Regions from separate parts of the Homo sapiens genome. Here region 1 is linked to region 2. The links are contacts of gene promoters, found by promoter capture Hi-C in human tissues and cell types (Jung and others, 2019). All regions are on one chromosome and are shown on one strand. Each heading gives the region's core, a stretch centred on a gene start or on the middle of the fragment in contact. The rest is flanking DNA. Distances are from core to core; before and after follow the strand shown. Region 1 overlaps ZNF804B (zinc finger protein 804B). Region 2 holds the start of SRI (sorcin).

What was found. Contacts are between HindIII fragments. The study calls those that stand out against the background at their distance.
Region 1: a contact is called between a fragment that was not itself captured here and the fragment with the promoter of SRI in region 2, in 1 of the 25 tissues and cell types used here (mesenchymal stem cells).

The regions. Positions count from the first base shown.
Region 1 is chr7:89,296,204-89,303,471 of GRCh38, forward strand. All of the region lies in intron 2 of ZNF804B (zinc finger protein 804B), which reads left to right. Among named protein-coding and RNA genes, the nearest start is that of TEX47, 500 kb to the left of the region's middle. The HindIII fragment of the contact is 3,790 bases long and covers 1-3,745 here.
Region 2 is chr7:88,216,784-88,223,572 of GRCh38, forward strand. It overlaps SRI (sorcin), which reads right to left and starts at 3,255. Exons shown (of 8, transcript NM_003130.4): 1 at 3,193-3,255; 2 at 2,076-2,159; 3 at 339-408. The coding sequence starts at 3,243. SRI-AS1 (SRI antisense RNA 1) reads left to right here. Exons shown (of 3, transcript NR_120517.1): 2 at 1,966-2,441. RefSeq lists silencers at 2,241-2,330, 2,978-3,477. The HindIII fragment of the contact is 24,276 bases long and covers 1-6,789 here.

The DNA of each region.
Region 1 (7,268 bases), core at 601-3,100, 1.1 Mb after region 2:
AACACTAAACTTCCTTGTTAAATAAATCAGTTAATATTGCAAAATTCGATTATACAGGAAAAAAATCTCTATCTATTGATGATTCTTAATTTATCTAGATTTATAGATATGTAATTTTAAAATAAAATGTTTGACCTCTTTATTTTCATATAATTTTTGGTGTTATGAAGCTTTCTGCTTGGCTATTAGTTCTAAAAACTAGGATATATGATGGATATCCTTATTTAAGTTATGTCTTGTTAGAGAGTCTTTGGGAGGACAGAACTCCTTCTACTTTTGAGAGCCACATTTTCCCTGGCTCTAAAGAATAAGATGACTGTCGTTTTCTCATAAATTGTAGGTTTTTCTACAAGGCTCATTACTGATTCCTTTCAGAGCTCATTTTCCTACAAAATACATAGGAGATCTCAGCGTCCTAAACCAGACTAAACTTTTGAATTGTTGTGTGTAGTAGACCCCAATACTTGACAAATTATCCACTCCAATTAACTATTAACGTAAGTTCTTTAATGTAGAGTCTCAGCATGTAGCCTGCTAAATTTTTAAAAAGAGCCAGCCACCTTTCCTCTCCCTAAACTGTAAAACAGAGAACTTAATAGGTAATTCTGTAACACTTTCTGATAGCTTTCTCCTTAATGAGCTGCTGGCCTGTGTCTCAGAGTCCACTTCCTTAAATGAGAAGAGCATGGTTTTCATGTCAACTATTTTAATATTGACTTCTTTTATACTCATTTTGTTAAGAAATCAACTGAGTCAAATATGACTACTTATAGTTTTTATTGCTTTGCACTAACCAATAATTATGTGTACAAAATTGAGCGGTCAAGAAATATAAGCTTAACATAGCCCCTCAGCTGTAAATGCTTTCATGAATACTAAATCATATAAAACTATCTTAATTAGTATAGGTAGATGTGTTCTGCCTGACCAGGTCACAATTTCAAGTAGCATGTACTAAAACTATGTTTTAATTCTCCTTTTTTAGCTCCTTTTTAATGGCTTCCTACTAAGTTCAATTAATTGGACACATGCTGTCCCGGAGTAGCAAACTTAAAAATATGTGTGTTTTTATGTTGATGAAATGTTTTCTCTTTAGGGTCTAAAAGTTATTACCAGAGGCAACTGGTCTTGCTGTCTAAATAGATAAGAATTGCTTACTATTAACTATGCTAAATAATAACCATCATTCTTAAAAGTTATTCTCCAAAAATGAAGCATTCATTTTAGTCATACATCAGTTCTGGAGACAAACGTACTGGAGACAAATGTACATAGTCCACAGAAGCCTATGTTGCTATATCTATGATAGGTAAATCGTAATATATTTTTTGAAAGAGTTGAGGCCCAAATTAAATATGCTGCAGAACTTTGACATTTCTGAGCATTTATCACTTTATTTGGGGGTAGGGTACCTTTCCTTTTGATGTAGTTTCAGATTTACAGAAATAGTACAAAGAACTCTCATATATCCCTAGATTCACCAGTTATTTATATTTTCTCTATATTCTGTATTACTCTCTATGAAGATATGGATGTAATATTTTTTCTAACCATTTGAGAGGATATTGGAGACCTTTAAGCCTAAATATTCATGTGCACTTTTGAAGAGTAAGGACATTATTTTACATAAACACAGAGCAATTCCAAAGTTGGGAAATTTAGATAGCACTATTTTTAATCCCCATATTCAAATTCCATAAACTGTATCAATAATATTCTTTAGAGATATTGTTTCCTGGGTCTAGGATCTAATCTAGGATCAGGCATTACATTTACTTAATTTTTTTTTTTTTTTAGTTCCTCTAATCTAGAACACTGTTAACCTATGCCCATATGTCTGCAGTTTCTTTTTCTTCAGGTAAAATTTCCATTCAGTGAACTACACATATTTAGAGAGTTGACAAAGGCCTCTATTTCATATAAATATATATATATATATCATATATATAGTATATATATATATTTCATATATATATAGTGTGTATATATATCTATATAGTGTGTGTGTGTGTGTATATATATATATATATATATATATATATATATATATATATACTTTAAGTTCTAGGTTACATGTGCAGAACGTGCAGGTTTATTACATAGGTATACACGTGCCATGGTGGTTTGCTGCACCCATCAACCCATCATCTACATTAGGTATTTCTCCTAATGCTCTCCCTCCCCTAGCCCCCACCCCACAACAGGCCCTGGTGTGTGATGTTCCCTCTATTTCTATAATCAGCACTACTATTAATATACAGGACATCTCTGTTCTCCTCAAAAGTGGGATTACGTAGTATATGCTATTTTATGTTTGGCTTTTTTAGTTCAGCATAATGACTATGTGATAATACATCTGTGTCTTTGCATGTATCTGTTGTTCATACCTTGTATTACAAAGCAATAATTAATTATCTATATATGGCAAAAATAACTTATTCCTGTGTTGACAGCTGTTTAGACTGTTACGAAAAAGCTTCTTTGTAACTTTTTGTACAAATTTTATTATATTTGGTGCATATGTATTTTCATATATATATTTTTAGTAAATAGAAACAGAATCACTATATCATAAGGTAAATATATGTTCAATTTTACTAAAACCTGGCAAAACCTTTTTCAAAGTGGTTGATCCATATTACATCCCTACCAGCTATGTGTGAAAGTTGCCAGTTCTAAAGAACAGGCAAAATGGATCGATGTGAAAAAAAAAATTAGAAAATGGATTGTCTCAGGGTTGCGATAATTTCAGAGTGACTAATAAAGTGAATTTTGGACTTAACTTGGAGACCTTTATGGCCCATTTTTCTCAGATACCACACCTACTTCTTATTAAGAATTCCAGTCAGACTTCTCAACTTTCATAATAGATATTCCATCCTTCTTTTCACCTCTTTGTTTTCCAAAGCTTAAGAACTACCATATATATAGATTGCTAGCATTTTAAACTCATGTGCAAGATTTTATGAGCAAACTGTCTGCTTTTCAGTTTTTAATCACAAACTTAACTAAGAGAATTGATATTCAAGGAAGATGGTCTATTTGACCAACTATTCATGTATTACTCTAGGAATTCTATGTTATGTCCTATTATCAGGTCACACAGCCCAAATGTCAGTTATCTGTAACATGTTATTTTGCATATAAAAAATCTATGTTGCTAGATTGCAATTCAAAATAAAAGTTCTTATTTTTTATTTGCTTGTTTGACAGTTGAAATTCTATTGATGTTTATAATGAAAATACTTGCTTTTTTCTCCTCTCTAGGATTCTGATTACTATTTCAGTTTTATTCATATATGCCAACTAAAGGCATTTCTGAAGTGAAATATCACAGTTTTAAACCTTCAAATACAAGTTAAAAGAAAAATATCCACAACAACAACAACAAAACTCAGCTGGCTTATTCAGAGTGCTTTTCAGCAATTTACTCACTTTGGGAATATCTAGTTTTCTTTGTGGATTAAACACGTCTGACGTGACTCACTGCTCTAAAATTCCCAGTTTTGAAGTAATATTTTGTTTTATTTGTCCTAAGAGACTGAGGGTTAACTGCTTTCTCCCATTTAGCTCTTAAAATGTATCAGTTTATTTACAGTATTTAACATACATATATTAGGACCTTCTTATTCTATAAAAATAGAACTACTTGTTTAATTAAACCACTAATTGCCTTAGCCAAAGGAAAACATCTTACTGAAATAAATGATTTGTCTTGGTAATAGAAGTGTCAAAAGTGCAAATAGATCCCTAATTGCTAGATAATTTCCCAACAATTAATTCTGCTGCTTAAGTATTCCCCAGCTAGCTCCATGTTGCCTCTCATTTTAGATCAGCACATCACCATCTCCTGCTTGATTATTTCTTTGCCTCCAGTCTTGCCCACTTTATCTACGCTACTACCTTTCATCTTTATAAAGTACAGTTACGGCCATGTCACTCTGCTGTATGAGACATTCCATTGTCTTCCTTCTCATACCACTGTATAGTTCAAAATAAAGCCTAACCTCTTTATGTTGGCTTAAAAGCCCTTCATAATTCAAGTTATTTCTGTCTCATCTCTTACCTTCCCCTATTTTGCACCCCTACTCCATTTATAACCATTTTCTAGCCTTATAAATGTCCTTCTCTTCCATGTGAATCTTTGTGTATGCCCTCTTTTTTTTTTAACCTGGAACACTCTACAGCAGCTTTTATACTTCATGCACTTAATGACTACTCTTCCTGTGATGTACTACTGAGTAGAGGAAAAAGTTAGAGCTATTTTTAATTAGTGGTGAAGGTAAGCCTCTGACAGCATGATATTGGATTCTGAAGATGAGAAAACAGCCTTCTAAGGAGAAATATGAGTGGTCTAGAAAGGGCAGAAGTCCTGAACTGGGGAAGATTATGGCATATTTGAGTCATAGAAAAAAGTCAGCATAGCTGGAGAGCATTGGAATGGAGAGAGAGGCAGAGTAGAGAGAATGACAGAAGATGAAACTGGAGAGGTATATACTGAGTGCCTAAATCATGTGTGATATCACAGACCATTCCAAAGACCTTGGATTTTAGTCTAAGATCATTTCTAAGCCACTAATAAGCTTTAATCAGGCAAAAGGCTTAATCTGAAAAAAGTTTTGAAGAGATTGCTCTGTTTGTATTGTAAACAGTGGATAGAAGTGGAGGAGGGTGAAATTGGCAGCTGAGAGATCTGCTAGATCTCTCTAGCAGTAGGTGGCATCCAGGAAGAAAATAATGATGGCTTGGGTAGGTGTAAGCATTGCACAGGGATAAAAGCTACTAATATATAACTTAGGGGATGAGCTAAACAGAACTTGCTGAGGAATAGGGAGTTGATAAAAATCCTCTTATATTTATGTAGAGAATTTCAGAGATTGGAATTTTTCAAGCGTGTTTTTTTTTTTTTTTTTTTTTTTGGTGGTGGTTCTCTTTTTTTCCGCAACAGTAACAATGCATCAACAAAAAATTCTGATAGATACCTTAAACTTACCACACACTTATTTTGACAGCTTTTCGTCTTATTTTTTAGAGTTTAGCTGATCTCCTTGATAAACAAGTTTATTCATGGATGGCTGAAACATGCTTATTATTTATATCAACTAAATAAAGTGGCCTGCAGTCGTTGATCTTGACAGGACAATGCAATAGCTTTCTTGCTGATGTGACTCATTATTTTCTCTTCCAAACTCACCCTGTGAACCCTATGCACCACCATCACAATTTCCTCAAGAACCATTTCAATTAATTTTCTTTTCTGCTTAATATAGTTTTTATAGCCCACTATACTCAGGACTAGGTTTATCTTTCAGGCTTCATTTCTCTTTTCTTTTCCTCATGAATGCAATGTTTCAGCTAAAAATAGCTAGTTAGTATTCCTTGAATCCTCCAGAATTTTATCATTATTTTGTCTTTACTCTTGCAGTCTTTCACAGGACATATTAATATCGTATCTCTAAAACAAAATTCTACTACCCTTAGAGCTTGGAATGAGAGTAATGCATAGTAGTTAAGAAAATTAGCTTTGCAGTTAAAGAATCATAGGTGAGAATTCTGCCTCTGTCACTTAATAGATGCGTGACCCCAGCAAGTTCTTAGCCTAAGGACCAGTTTCCCTTTCTCTGAGATGGGGAAGATGAGAGTATCTACTTTATGATGTTGCACTAAAAATTAAATAAGATCTTACCTGCAACACATTTTATAACATTGTTTGACATAAATTAAGCACCGAACAAATGATAGGTATCAATATCTTTATTAAGGTTCACTTTAAATGCTATGACTTTATATGAAAAACCCATGGCATCAGCTTGAACTATCAACTTGAATGTGATGTTATATATTCCCATTGCTGTTATATATATTATGAGACATATATACATAAGCACAAACAATGTCTTACATGTTCATTATCATAACCAATTGTCTACATCTGTTGCATCATTCTTTCCACATTCTGCTGTGCAATAAGATTGTGTGTATACCAAATATATGATAATTTTTTTTGTCCCATATCCAATTCTTAGATAAAGATTTATACCCTCCTTTCACATTGCTTGTACCTGTATTAGAGTTAAGCCTCAGCTCTCTGAACTCTACATGAGAGTTAAGCCTCAGCTCTCTCCAACCCTGTCACAGCTATCGGGGACATGGATGGACCCTTGGTGTTAGTTGTTTCAGGTACATTCTTTTCCTCCATTACTTAGAAATCAGAGCCTGAGAATATGTCATCTTGGGCAATGTTAACCTAGAGCTTGGAATGGCCATGTTCAGATCTAATGCATTATAAAATAGAGGAAGTTATGCTAGAGAGAGAGAGAGAAAGAGACAGAAGAATGATATAGTTGATCACAGAGAAGGAGAGATGGGAGACCATGCAGTCCTTTATTGACAGATAAAATAATTTCAATTCATAGCTTCCTTGTTCCTGGTGTCAGTCCATTTTGCAATCTAGCTACACTTCCTGCCAGGTCTTTTGGTGAAATAGCCTATAGTCTTCCATGAAATTATCTTCAGTTTTAGTAGATTTTGTTACTAACACATAAACCATCTTTGTAAGAGGCCACATGCCTATCTCCATTCCCTTCAAGCACTGTAGCTGCATGAATATCTTTTCCATCTTCATCTAGGTCAGTGCCTAACACAGAGCAGCAGTAACAACCTGATGGCAATAAATTGGTTTTACCATTGCTCACAGTCTAGAATTTAACACAATACTATTCAGGCACAAAATCAAGCTGATTTAAAAGTAAATTTAAATTAATTTTCTTTGAAAACGTTGGTAGTGTTTTATAAAAATCCTTGAGATTTTCTCTGAGATCCTGGGCTGGGAATTACTATATTAAACCAAAGTGTAGTAAGTATCAAAACTGGCTTTACATATGAGTGTGTCTCATACATTTGGAAAAAGCCAAGATGTTTCTGGATTGAGATCTTCTTCTAGTAAATAATAGCTTCTTTGAAGCTGTGTTGTATTCCAGACATTTCACTTATTAACCAAGGAGAAGGCAGATATTTGTATATTGCTGGCATGAAGACATTCTAAATTTCACATTCTAAATCTCAAATGGATATTTCAAAGCTTTCATAGTTGTATTTTTTGAAACTTCAATTTATGTAGACTAGAAAATATAACTATTTTGAAATATAATTTAAAATTATTGGTCCTGTGAAGATGGCAATGTCGTGATTCCAAGGGAGAGTAATGATGTGTTAAAAGGTACACAAAAAGTTAATCAGAGAAAATAGATTGCAGAGGTTACCAGCTA
Region 2 (6,789 bases), core at 2,005-4,504:
ATTATTTTAAAGACAAGGTCTTGCTCTGTTGCTCAGGCTGGAGTGCAGTGGTACAATCATAGATTACTGCAGCCAAAAACTCTTGGCTTCAAGCGATCCTCCTGCCTGGGCCTCTGAAGTACTGGGATTACAGGTGTGAGCCACTGTGCCCAGCCTGGAGTGATTTAAAAACTGTTTTCAAATCAACATTTTGAAATAGTACTGTATTTTAGCTTTCGGAATTCTAAACTTTGCTAGATCCGACAAGCTCAGTTTTCTTGAAGGCTGTAATCACAAGTAACAGCTAAGATAGGAAACACAAGAGTATATTTAGACAAACTTTGGGACTGTCAACTTACGTTTGTATCCTCCAGCAATGCCAGACTGTGTCAGACATCTCTGCAATTCATCAGCATCTATCTGCCCATCCTTTTGAAAAAAAATTAGAGGAATCATAATAGTGATTTGTACTTTCAAGTTGTTTACCTTCAGCATTCAATGAAGCAATAACAACAAAGAAAATCAGTATCTTTTTTTTATTTAAAAGGAATGCCTTTTTTTTATTAAAAGGAATGCCTTCCAAAAGTGGGCATTCTTTTCCTTAACCCACTTCCAAAAGTAATTTAATGATGAAAGAAAGAGTCTGTCTTGGCAACTACTCTTCTCTCAATCTGAGCTAGCAAACTGCTACAGCTAAACATTTTAAAATATTTTTTTTTGATGGGGGTGGAGAGAGCAAGGTACAAAGCAGACATCAATAAATAGAAGGCTTGGTTCAAACAGAAAAAGGCCTCCTTGGTCACTTTTTCTTATGATATAGTGAATCATTTTTTTCAGAGCACAAATACATCTGGAAGATTCACATTAGGTTCCCAGTGCCCATTCACTGGCTGAACTGGGAAAGAACTAGATATATGTGATTTTTAGGGACTTTAAAATAAAATACCTAAATCTTCAAGTCACTGGGTATTATAAGTTATAAATGAGGAGCAAGATCAGCAATTTGAAAGACAATGGGTATGCTGAATACAGGCCAGGGCTGCTGAAAGCTAAGCAGGTGGAGTCACTTACATGCTGGAGGCACTGGCAATCTAAGAATGCTAGTCTTGAGGTTTGCCATGCCTTGTGGTTTCAAAGATACAGATCATTAACAGTTTAAGTAGATACTTAAGGGGAAGGTCTTCCAGTTTTAGACTATATTTTCCATTCAATTTCTTAAGCTGTATTTCTTAGAGTACTACCTTAAAAGTGGTCTTAGGTTTTTTATCCCATAATATTCTACAGTTTTCACATTAAGATTTTGCTATTTCTAGCTTTTGGTCAAAACAAAACTAGGTTGAATTCATAAGAACAAACATCTCCTCTGGACGTGTCTGGGTTATACCAACAGTATATTTACTGCACACAGTGACCTCATGAACTAGGGAAGTGTCCTCTCTCAATGTAAGATAGCACCTGTCAATGTAAGATAGCACCTGTCATACAACTCAGAATGCAGACAAGTGAAAGGTCTTGGGGAGCTGACCTTAATTGCTTCTCTGGGTCAACAGGCCAGAACACCTAATAAGGACATGGAGGGGCTGACCTAGTAACAGCATCTGCATCAAAGAGAAACTACACTGTTCACAAGATTAACTTTCTGATACTAAGAAGGGAACAGTAACTTCCTTATTTAGAAGCTGGTGGGTTTTTACCATATTTCCTAAGGGGGTGAATGATTAGCAATCAAGTTCAACCCAAAGAAAGTGCCCATTAGAATCGAGCTATGTAATTACTAATATATGTCTTTAAGTTGTACAAACAAGCGTTTATATTTACCAGATCTTGAATTTTTTCGCTTGAAACCATCCTGGACCCTTTAATTCAACCACAAGTTTGCTTTCGAACTGAACTCACATAAATACGAGTAACACTTTGTCCTCATTTATTCTGAACATTCAGAAATAAAAAACTAAAATAAGAAACAACTTTTTTTTTCTTTTGCAGAAGCAAAGGGACTCAGTACCACAGGAAGTTCGCTTTTCTGTGTCACTATATCAAAAGCTACCACAAATGCAGACAATAACGGCTCTTTAATATTAAAGGGAAAAGCTAACCTGTCCAGCTACAGCAGCAAAGTAACCATACAGCGGATCCTGAGTTTGTCCGGGAAACGCAGGCCCTCCGGGAGCCCCTCCATACTGTGAAACAGGAAACACATACACGTCATTCTGCCGAATCAAGTTTTCTTCTTTCACCACTGAGGGCTTTTGTGCAAGGCCAGACAACTGCCCGCCTGCCCGCCCTTCACAAGGCTCACCTCCCCACCACCGGGCACACTCTGCCAACACTCCACCCCTCTCTTCCATTCACACCCCGTAATTTAAAAACTGGCGACTTAGACCATAAAGAGTTGCTGTGAAAGTGATGTCTACATATGTAAAGCAACTTTTAAAATCCCTATTAACCTGAAGGTTACTGAGGTGAGTGCAAACTAGGTAAGCCAACGAATGGCAGGGCTTCAAATTCTCCTTTTGTTGTTACAGCATTTATGGTATTTTAAGAGCGTTTTATGAACGATGGAAGGCTGGAGTTGGTAACATTCTGAGACGGGTGTAGCCTAGGGAAGAGTAAGGTGTCCGGCCGGGCTGTATCTCGTGGGTGGCGAGGGAACATTGCCTGTCTCGGAAACAGTTCCCAAGACAACGCGCATCCCAGACGCCCGGCGAGGCTGCCTTCCTACAGGTCTTTTACTTCAGCAGGTTTTCCCTTTTTTTCCGTCCCCCTTCTCACTCGTTTTTTGTTTGTTTGTTTGTTTGTTTGTTTGTTTGTTTTTTAAAGGGAGGAAGGTATATCATTCTAGAATAAAATGACTGTTGTTGCTCTGGGAGGCAACCAAGAAGGCGGGGGTGGGGTGGGGTGGGGGTCAGCCAACACCCAATTAACACGATTTCACGCCGCGTATCCGAGAAGCCGCAGGGTGGGCTTCTAGGGTCCCAATCCACCCTCACCTTGGCCCCGCAGGGCCATCCAGGAGAAGGGACGGGGAAACGTGGGGAGAGGCCGAACCCCAGGGGCCTAGGGCGAGGCCGCGAGCGCAGGGAGAAGCCGAGGGCGGAAGGAGCCCGGGTAGCCGCCCAGCAGCGCCTCACCCCGCTGGCCGCAGCATCTCCAAGGTGGCCTCTTAGCGCCCCGGAGCCGCCTGGGCCGCGATCCCGCGCAGTCAGCACTTACCCCGCCTGGGTAGTACCCGCCGCCGGCGCCAGGATGCCCCGGGTACGCCATGCTGCAGACTGCGCCGCAGCCGCCCTCGCCCTGTGCGCCAGGCCTCTCCGCCCCCTGCCCCGCCCCGCCCTGCCGCTAGGGGGCCGCCCCAGAGCGCACCACGCGGGCGTGGGGGACGCGCTCCGCAGTCGTCTCCAGCTCTTGCCTGTGCGCGCGGCCGTGGCTCCCCTGCCTGCGCGCTTCTTCGTATCTTTGCCATTACGGCGCTAATGCAGTGCACGACTGAAGGTCCAGTGGCGGCCTACGACCTGCGAGGCAATTCACACCAGGGACTTTCCTCCCTCCAAAACTAATGGCACATTCCAACACCAATACACCACCCCAGGAATTCTTTTTTTTTTTTTTTCCTTCGGACTTGGCTATTATCTGGCACATTTCTTATTTTAAACAACTTTATTGGACAGGACGGAGCTATTATAAGCGGAGCGCACCATCGCGAGGCAGGGGCTGGATGCGTTAGGGCAAGCCTTAGGTGCCAGTGGGTGAAGGAGTCTTTGAAAGATGGAAATACGAAAGCGCCCTTGGAAAATAAGAATTAACTTGACGAACTGTGTGCAAGGGAGAGTTTGGCTTGCTGTTGGTTGCAGAGTTCACTGAACGACAACGGCGTATTTCCTTCCTAGGGGACAATTCCTTGCCTGTTTAAGCTGAGCGTGACTTGTGTCCTGAGTAGGACAGAGGGCATTTTCCGGGCAGGACAGACTCACACATATCGTTCTTAGGAAAATGAATTGTTTGAATTATCTGGATGATTCAGACAAAACAATCCATTTCCCTAAAAGTATTCAGCTACTTTTTATATAAGAAAAGTTTAGAACAAACTAATAGTGTACTGGTAAGTATTCAGGAAGATAAGAGATAGGAACTTCTATGTAGGTTATTCTTCTTTACTTCATATATTTTTCTATCTTCCAGTTGAATAGTCCGAAGCAATTCAGGCGTGAGCTTTTTGTTTTGTTTTGTGTAATTTCAATGACAGAAAATTGCTTGCCCTTCACTGTTAAGGACTAGACTTAATGATTTCCTGAATTTTAACGTATTGAGAAACGCATTAATAAGCAAGATTCACAGTATTTGTTGTGGAGGTTGCACAGAAACATTTAAAGGGTCATCAACATTTCACAAATATTGGAGCACCCGCCAATGTGGTACTGTGCTTTTTCGCTGTGGTGGACGGGCTTCCTCCATTCTAAATTCGTGGGCTATTGTCCTCATTCGGTTCATTGTTTTTCTCTTGTGTGTAACTTCCCTCGCAAGCCCTTTTGAAAACCAAAGTCCGAATTGTGAGAAAAATTCTAATAGTCCCTGTTGTGGCATAGCAAAGACACTGCATGTTGCCTGTTTTGTGTTTGATTCAGGAAGCAGGTTACTGTTTTCAATCATCAAGGTAGCAATCATCAAGGTAGATGAGACATCTAATGAGTCCCCTGGTCTCTCTTTGGAAGCCTGTTTCTTCAGAAAGAGGTAACCGACTATAAAGAGTAGATGTCAGGGCCGAACTCGATGTTGAGTACAAGCTCAAGACTCAAGTTTGAAAGAAGTATAAAGCATATAAAATATTTTTAAGTACTGCAGAATTAGCTTCGTGGATAAACGGCTATACGAATTGGCATATCAGTTGTCCTTAGACATCTTCCCACTGCTTTACTGCTAAAGAATTGAATTTTTTTTTTAATTACACTTTAAGTTTTAGGGTACATGTGAACATTGTGCAGGTTGGTTACATATGTATACATGTGCCATGCTGGTGCGCTGCACCCACTAACTCGTCATCTAGCATTAGGTATATCTCCCAATGCTATCCCTCTCCCCTCCCCCCACCCCACCACAGTCCCTAGAGTGTGATATTCCCCTTCCTGTGTCCATGTGATCTCATCGTTCAGTTCCCACCTATGAGTGAGAATATGCGGTGTTTGGTTTTTTGGTCTTGCGATAGTTTACTGAGAATGATGATTTCCAATTTCATCCATGTCCCTACAAAGGACATGAACTCATCATTTTTTATGGCTGCATAGTATTCCATGGTGTATATGTGCCACATTTTCTTAATCCAGTCTATCATTGTTGGACATTTGGGTTGGTTCCAAGTCTTTGCTATTGTGAATAATGCCGCAATAAACATACGTGTGCATGTGTCTTTATAGCAGCATGATTTATAGTCCTTTGGGTATATACCCAGTAATGGGATGGCGGGTCAAATGGTAATTCTAGTTCTAGATCCCTGAGGAATCGCCACACTGACTTCCACAATGGTTGAACTAGTTTACAGTCCCACCAACAGTGTAAAAGTGTTCCTATTTCTCCACATCCTCTCCAGCACCTGTTGTTTCCTGACTTTTTAATGATTGCCATTCTAACTGGTGTGAGATGGTATCTCATAGTGGTTTTGATTTGCATTTCTCTGATGGCCAGTGATGATGAGCATTTTTTCATGTGTTTTTTGGCTGCATAAATGTCTTCTTTTGAGAAGTGTCTGTTCATGTCCTTCGCCCACTTTTTGATGGGGTTGTTTGTTTTTTTCTTGTAAATTTGTTTGAGTTCACTGTAGATTCTGGATATTAGCCCTCAAACTATACTACAAGGCTACAGTAACCAAAACAGCATGGTACTGGTACCAAAACAGAGATATAGATCAATGGAACAGAACAAAGCCCTCAGAAATAACGCCGCATACCTACAACTATCTGATCTTTGACAAACCTGACAAAAAGAAGAAATGGGGAAAGGATTCCCTATTTAATAAATGGTGCTGGGAAAACAGGCTAGCCATATGTAGGAAGCTAAAACTGGATCCCTTCCTTACACCTTATACAAAAATCAATTCAAGATGGATTAAAGATTTAAACGTTAGACCTAAAACCATAAAAACCCTAGAAGAAAACCTAGGCATTACCATTCAGGACATAGGCATGGGCAAGGACTTCATGTCCAAAACACCAAAAGCAATGGCAACAAAAGACAAAATTGACAAATGGGATCTAATTAAACTAAAGAGCTTCTGCACAGCAAAAGAAACTACCATCAGAGTGAACAGGCAACCTACAAAATGGGAGAAAATTTTCGCTACCTACTCATCTGACAAAGAATTGAATTTTAATGGAGTGTTGCAAATTCAATTCTTACAATTATTGCTAACAAATTGGTCAGCTGCTAATACTTTAGTTTGCTGGAAAAAATTGTGGCAACTTATAATACCATCAGACATATATATAATAATAAAAATATGCCAGATCCTCATCGCATTTTACTTATTTGCTTAATCTTAATAAAAACCCATGGGATAGGTACTATTGTCATTCCTATTATACAGTTTTGAGGAAGGGGAAGGAACAGAACAGAGCTGAGCTATGCTGCCAAGCCATCTGACTCTAGAGTCTGTGCTCTACACCCAGGGGCAGGTAAAGGGCCAGGTAGTAAATATTTTAGGCCTGTGGGCCATACAGTCTCTGTATGAGAGAGTCTACATACATAGTGGTATGTAGACTATGTAGTCATAGTGGTATGGCCAAATACCACTCAACTCTGCTGTGTAGGCCACAAGTATCC